Regions from separate parts of the Homo sapiens genome. Here region 1 is linked to region 2. The links are contacts of gene promoters, found by promoter capture Hi-C in human tissues and cell types (Jung and others, 2019). All regions are on one chromosome and are shown on one strand. The core of a region is centred on a gene start or on the middle of the fragment in contact, and the rest is flanking DNA. Distances in the headings are between cores, read along the strand shown. Region 1 holds the start of CCL22 (C-C motif chemokine ligand 22). Region 2 has its middle 6.4 kb from the start of DOK4.

Region 1 (2,857 bases), core at 111-2,610, 130 kb before region 2:
TGGTCTTGAACTCCTGACCTCAGGTGATCCACCTGCCTGGGCCTTCCAAAGTGCTGGGATTACAGTCATGAATCACTGCACCCAGCCCATGTGTTCTGAGCACCCAACATGTGCCTGATCCTCAGAGGGCCCTGGGAATGCCAAGAAAAATGAAGGGAGACCCCAGCCTCCTAGAGCTTGGAGTCTGACTTCTAGGGAGGGGCTTGAGAAAGAGAAAACCTGACCCAGTCTGCTCAGGGCCACATTCCAGGTCCCCTAGAAGGCTTTGAAGTCCTGAGAGGGTGTGCTTACCAAGGACATGACATTTCAAACAGCTTTGACGCATAAGTAGGAGTTTATGTGGTAGAGATGTGGAAAGTGACATTAAAGGCCAGGGACAGGCCGCAGTCCCTTTTGAGGAAGTGTGAGGAGTGTGGTGTGATCCCTCAGGGGAAGGAGACCAGTGGGGAAAGGCCTGTCCGGAAACGGGGCCTTGAAGGCCACAGACAGGAGCCCGGGACCTGCCTTTAGGTGAATGGGGAGCCACGGCAGGGTTCTGAAGCAGGAGAGAGAGTGTGTAGCTCTGGACCACTCACGCTGGCTGCTGCAGGGTGGGGATGGCATTGAGGAGGCCAGCATCCCAGCCTGAGGTGGAGGTGGCCTGGACTGGGCAGGAACAGTGGGGTTGGAGAGAAGGAGCAGATCTGAGAGAGATTTAGGAAGCAGAATCAACGGGACATGGACATGGTGAGGGACTGAGACAGGAGTGGGGGAGGGAGAGCCCGGCAGCCACTGGGAAGGAAGATCAGGCAGGACAGAAGTGTGGGTAGATGCTTTCCATAAACCGTTGAGAAATCCACGACCTGGCCCAAATGTGGACTTCACGAGAAGCCCCAGATGGGTCAATGGGTCCATAGGCCTCTCCCATTGAAGAGAGACCAGTAATGCCGTCATTAAGGGTACAAGACAGGCCTCAATTCTAGGTGAGGGTTGGTCCACGTTCTCACTTGATTTACAACCAGTGAAGTCAACAGAGCTGTGAAACCATCTCCCCCATTTCCAGATGGGGAAACCAAGTCCCAGAGACACCCAGACATGGCCAAGGCCACACAGTGCAGAGACCCTGGGGAGCACAAGCCTCTAAGAGGGGGATTTTACAAGTCTGTCTGAAACCAGAGGCGAGGACAGAGTTGAGGGGGGGTCCCCTCTGAGTGGTTCCCCGCCAAAGAGAATTTCTCCACTTTGGAGGAAGTGGGAGGTAGTTCTTCTTTTGAGATGTGAATGTCAAGTGACTCTGGGCACCCCGGTGACTAAGAGGTAAGTAAGTGAGGCTTGTGGGTGGAGCCAGCACCTTAAATAGCAGGTCTTCCTATGTCCCTTTGCAGACACCTGGGCTGAGACATACAGGACAGAGCATGGATCGCCTACAGACTGCACTCCTGGTTGTCCTCGTCCTCCTTGCTGTGGCGCTTCAAGCAACTGAGGCAGGTGAGGCTGGGGAGCAGGAAGACCCCCTACAGAGGCCAGGGCAGACGGTGGGGTGTCTTCCTCATGTCTTGGACAAGCACTGGACCAAGAGCAGAAGACCTCAGTCTGCTGTTGGCTCTTGCGGCCTTCGGCTAGTTGCAGTGCTTCTCTGGGCCTCAGTTTACAAGTCTGTTGAATGGGCAGTCTTGAAGACTTGGAGTCTAGGATCTGTCTCACCTGGGTTGGGGGTTGTGGTGGGCATAGCCTCGGGATCTCCTGCCCCAGAAAACTCAAGCATAGGGCCCTAGGGGTGTGGGTGAGGAGCTTCTAAGGGTCAGGTCTGAGTGGGGGAAGGCAGGGCTGGGGCAAGGGGTTCTCCCTTGGAAAGCTGGTGCTGCCCTCCCACCATCCATTTTTTAAAATGTTATTATTATTATTTTTTATTTTATTTTATTTTATTTTTTGAGACACAGTTTCACTCTTGTTGCCCAGGATGGAGTGCAGTGGGGCAATCTTGGCCCACTGCAACCTCTACCTCCCAGGTTCAAGCGATTCTCCTGCCTCAGCCTCCTGAGTAGCTGGGATTACAGGCATGCACCACCACACCTGGCTAATTTTTGTATTTTTAGTGGAGACAGGGTTTCACCATGTTGGCCAGGCTGGTCTCAAACTCCTGACCTCAGATGATCCTCCCACCTCAGCCTCCCAAAGTGCTGGGATTACAGGCATGAGCCACTGCGTCTAGCCTAAATTTATTTTTTATTTCATTTTATTTATTTATTTTTTGAGATGGAGTCTCTGTTGCCCAGGCTGGAGTGCAGTGGCGCAATCTCAGCTCACTGCAACCTCCACCTCTGGAGTTAAAGTGATTCTCCTGCCTCAGCCTCCTGAGTAGCTGGGATTACAGGCACCTGCCACCATGCCCGGCTAATTTTTGTATTTTTAGTAAAGATGGGGTTTCACCATGCTGACCGGTCTTGTCTCGAACTCCTGACCTCAAGTGAAACTCCCATCTTGGCCTCCCTAAGTGTTAGGATTACAGGCGTGAGCCACTGCTCTGGGCTCACTATCCATTTTTGTCCAGAACCTGTCCTCAGCATGGATTCCTGACTCCTCTTCTCCACCCCACTCTATACTTTTGCTGTGTTGGGTGGAGGAGTGAGCACTGGAGTGGGGTCAGGCAGCTATAAACAAGAATTGCTCCCAGCTGCTGGGCTTTCTGAGTGCTTTTCATGCATTAAAGACCCTCTGAAGCTGGTACTGTTATTACCCCTTTGGTCAGAGGAGGAAATTGGGCCTCAGGCTACAGCTGATGCTTAGTTGTTCTGAATCCCCGCTCCTAGAGCTGACTGTCCCAGAGTGTAGACATTGGACCCTAAGTGGCTTCTCAGAAGCTCCAAGGGTAGGGTCT
Region 2 (2,768 bases), core at 257-2,756:
TACCTTATTATTATTATTATTGATGTCTTCAGGTTTTATAGCAATATTCCTTATTTCACTTCTGATGTAGGTATTTGTGTCTTCTCTGACATTTTTACTCTGTCAGTCTTGCTGGAGGTTTGTCAATTTTATTGATCTGTTCAAAAAAACCAAATCTTTGTTCCACTAATTCTCTCTCTCTCCCTCTCTCTCTCTTTCTCTCTCTCTCATTTTAGATTTCATTGATTTCTGCTCTTATCTTTATTATTCCCTTACTTCTGCTGGTTTTGAATTTATTTTGCTGTTTTTTTCTAGGTCTTTAAGGTGTCAGTCTATCAAGTTTAGATGATATAGAGTTCAGATGACAGATATAAGACTTTTCCTCTTTTCTAAGGTGAAATAAATGTCCATATTAGTGCTGCTTTAGGTGTATTCCACAAATTTTGATATGTTTTACTTTCGCTGTCATTCAGTTCAATGTATCTTTTAAAAAATTCCCTTGAAACGTTCTCTTTATCCATGGATCATTCAGAAGCGTACTGTTTAATTTCTAAGTATTTGGATAATTTCCTGTTCTCTTTGTGTTACTGATTTCTAGTTTGATTCCATTGTAGCCAGAAAAAAACACTCTGTAAGATTTCAATTCTTTTAAACTTGTTGAAGTTTGTTTTATGGCCAGGACATGGTCTATCTTGGTATATGTTCATGAGCACTTGAAAACAAGGTGTGGGCCCGGTGTGGTGGCTCACGCCTGTAATCCCAGCACTTTGGGAGGCTGAGGCGGGTGGATCACTTGAGGCCAGGAGTTTGAGACCAGCCTGGACAGTACGGTGAAACCCCATCTCTACTAAAAATACAAAAATTAGCCAGATGCGCTTGCTTGGACCCAGGAGGCGGAGGTTGCAGTGAGCCAAGATTGTGCCACTGCACTCCAGCATGGGCGACAGAGCAAGACTCTGTCTCAAAAAAGAAAAAAAAGAAAACACGGTATGTTCTGCTGTTCTGAGGTAGAGTGTTCTAAAAATATCAGTTAGATCCTGTTGGCTGATGCTGTGGTTAAGTTCTGCATCTTTTCTGATTTTATATCTAGTTGTACTATCAATAGCTGGAAAGAGGTGTTGCTATCTCCAACTATAAGTGTGGATTTGTCCATTTCTCCTTTCACTTCTATCAGTTTTTGTTTTGCATATTTTGTAGTTCTCTTGCTTGGTGCATGTGTATTAAGGATTTCTTTTCTTTTCTTCTTCTTTTTTTTTTTTTTTTTTTTTTTGATATGGAATCTTGCTCTGTCGCCTAGGTTGGAGTGCAGTGGTGCGATCTCGGCTCACTGCAATCTCCGCTTCCCGGGTTGAAGTGATTCTTCTGCCTCAACCTCCTGAGTAGCGGGGACTACAGGGGTGTGCCACCACACCTGGCTAATTTTTGTATTTTTTGTAGAGATGGGGTTTCACCATATTGGCCAGGCCAGTCTCGAAATCCTGATCTTGTGATCTGCCTGCCTCGCCCTGCCAAAGTGCTGGGATTACAGGCGTGAGCCACCATGCCCGGCCCTGTATTAAGGATTTCTATATCTTCTTGATAGATTGACACTTTTACTATTATATACCGTCCCTCTCTGTCTCTGGTAGTTTTCTTTGCTCTAGAGTCTACTGTGATGGTTAATTTTGTGTTAAGGGATACCAAGATAGGTGGAAAAGCATTATTTCTTTCTTTTCTTTTCTTTCTTCTTTTTATTTTTATTTTTTGCTAATTTATTTTTTTTGAGACAGAGTCTCGCTCCGTTTCTCAGGCTGGAGTGCAGTGGCGCGATCTCGGCTCACTGCAAGCTCCGCCTCCCAGGTTCACGCCAATCTCTCGCCTCAGCCTCCTGAGTAGCTGGGACTACAGGCACCCGCCATCACGCCCGGCTAATTTTTTATTTTATTTTATTTTATTTTTTGTATTTTCAGTAGAGACGGGGTTTCACCGTGTTAGACAAGATGGTCTCGATCTCCTGACCTCATGATCCACCCGCCTCGGCCTCCCAAAGTGCTGGGATTACAGGCGTGAGCCACCGCGCCCGGCCTCTTTTCTTTTCTTTTTAGATGGAGTCTCGCTCTGTTGCCCAGGCTGGAGTGCAGTGGCGTGATCTCGGCTCATTGCAAACTCTGCCTCCGGGTTCAAGGGATTCTCCCACCTCGGCCTCTGGGTAGCTGAAATTACAGGCGTGTGCCACCAAGCCCGGCTAATTTTTATAATTTTAGTAGAGACAGGGTTTCACCATGTTGGCCAGGCTGGTCTTGAATCCTGGCCTCAGGTGATCGCCCGCCTCGGCCTCCCAAAGTGCTGGGATTATAGGCATGAACCACTGTGCCTGGCCTCAGCCATTATTTCTTTGAGTACTTTTTTTAGCCTTGTCTTCCTTCTTCTCTCTTTCAGGGACTCTGATGGCACAAATACTAAATCTTTTGTTACAGTCCTACAGGTCCTGTATTTTTCAGTGTATTTTCTCTCTGTTGTTCAAATTGGGCAATTTCTATTGCTCTCTCTTCCAGTTCACTGACTCTTTCCTGTTCCCCAATTCTACTATTCAGCCCACCCACTGAGGTTTTTATTTCAGTTATTGTGTTTTTCAGTTCGAAAATTCCCACTGGATCTCTTTATACCTTCTGTTTCTTTGCTGAGACTTTCTATGTTTTATTTTTTACTTGTTTCAAGCATGTTCGCAGTTGGTCCTTGAAGCATTTTATGATGGCCACTTTAAAATCTTTGTCAGATAATTCCAACATCTCTGTCATCTCAGTGTTGAA

Evidence for each region. The method cuts DNA at HindIII sites, captures the fragments that hold promoters and counts their contacts. A contact is called where the count stands out against the background at its distance.
Region 1: the fragment with the promoter of CCL22 here is called in contact with a fragment that was not itself captured in region 2 in 2 of the 25 tissues and cell types used here (adrenal gland and thymus).

The regions. Positions count from the first base shown.
Region 1 is chr16:57,357,423-57,360,279 of GRCh38, forward strand. It overlaps CCL22 (C-C motif chemokine ligand 22), which reads left to right and starts at 1,361. Exons shown (of 3, transcript NM_002990.5): 1 at 1,361-1,467. The coding sequence starts at 1,395. The HindIII fragment of the contact is 38,120 bases long and covers 1-2,857 here.
Region 2 is chr16:57,491,497-57,494,264 of GRCh38, forward strand. No RefSeq gene overlaps it. Among named protein-coding and RNA genes, the nearest start is that of DOK4, 6.4 kb to the left of the region's middle. The HindIII fragment of the contact is 9,222 bases long and covers 1-2,768 here.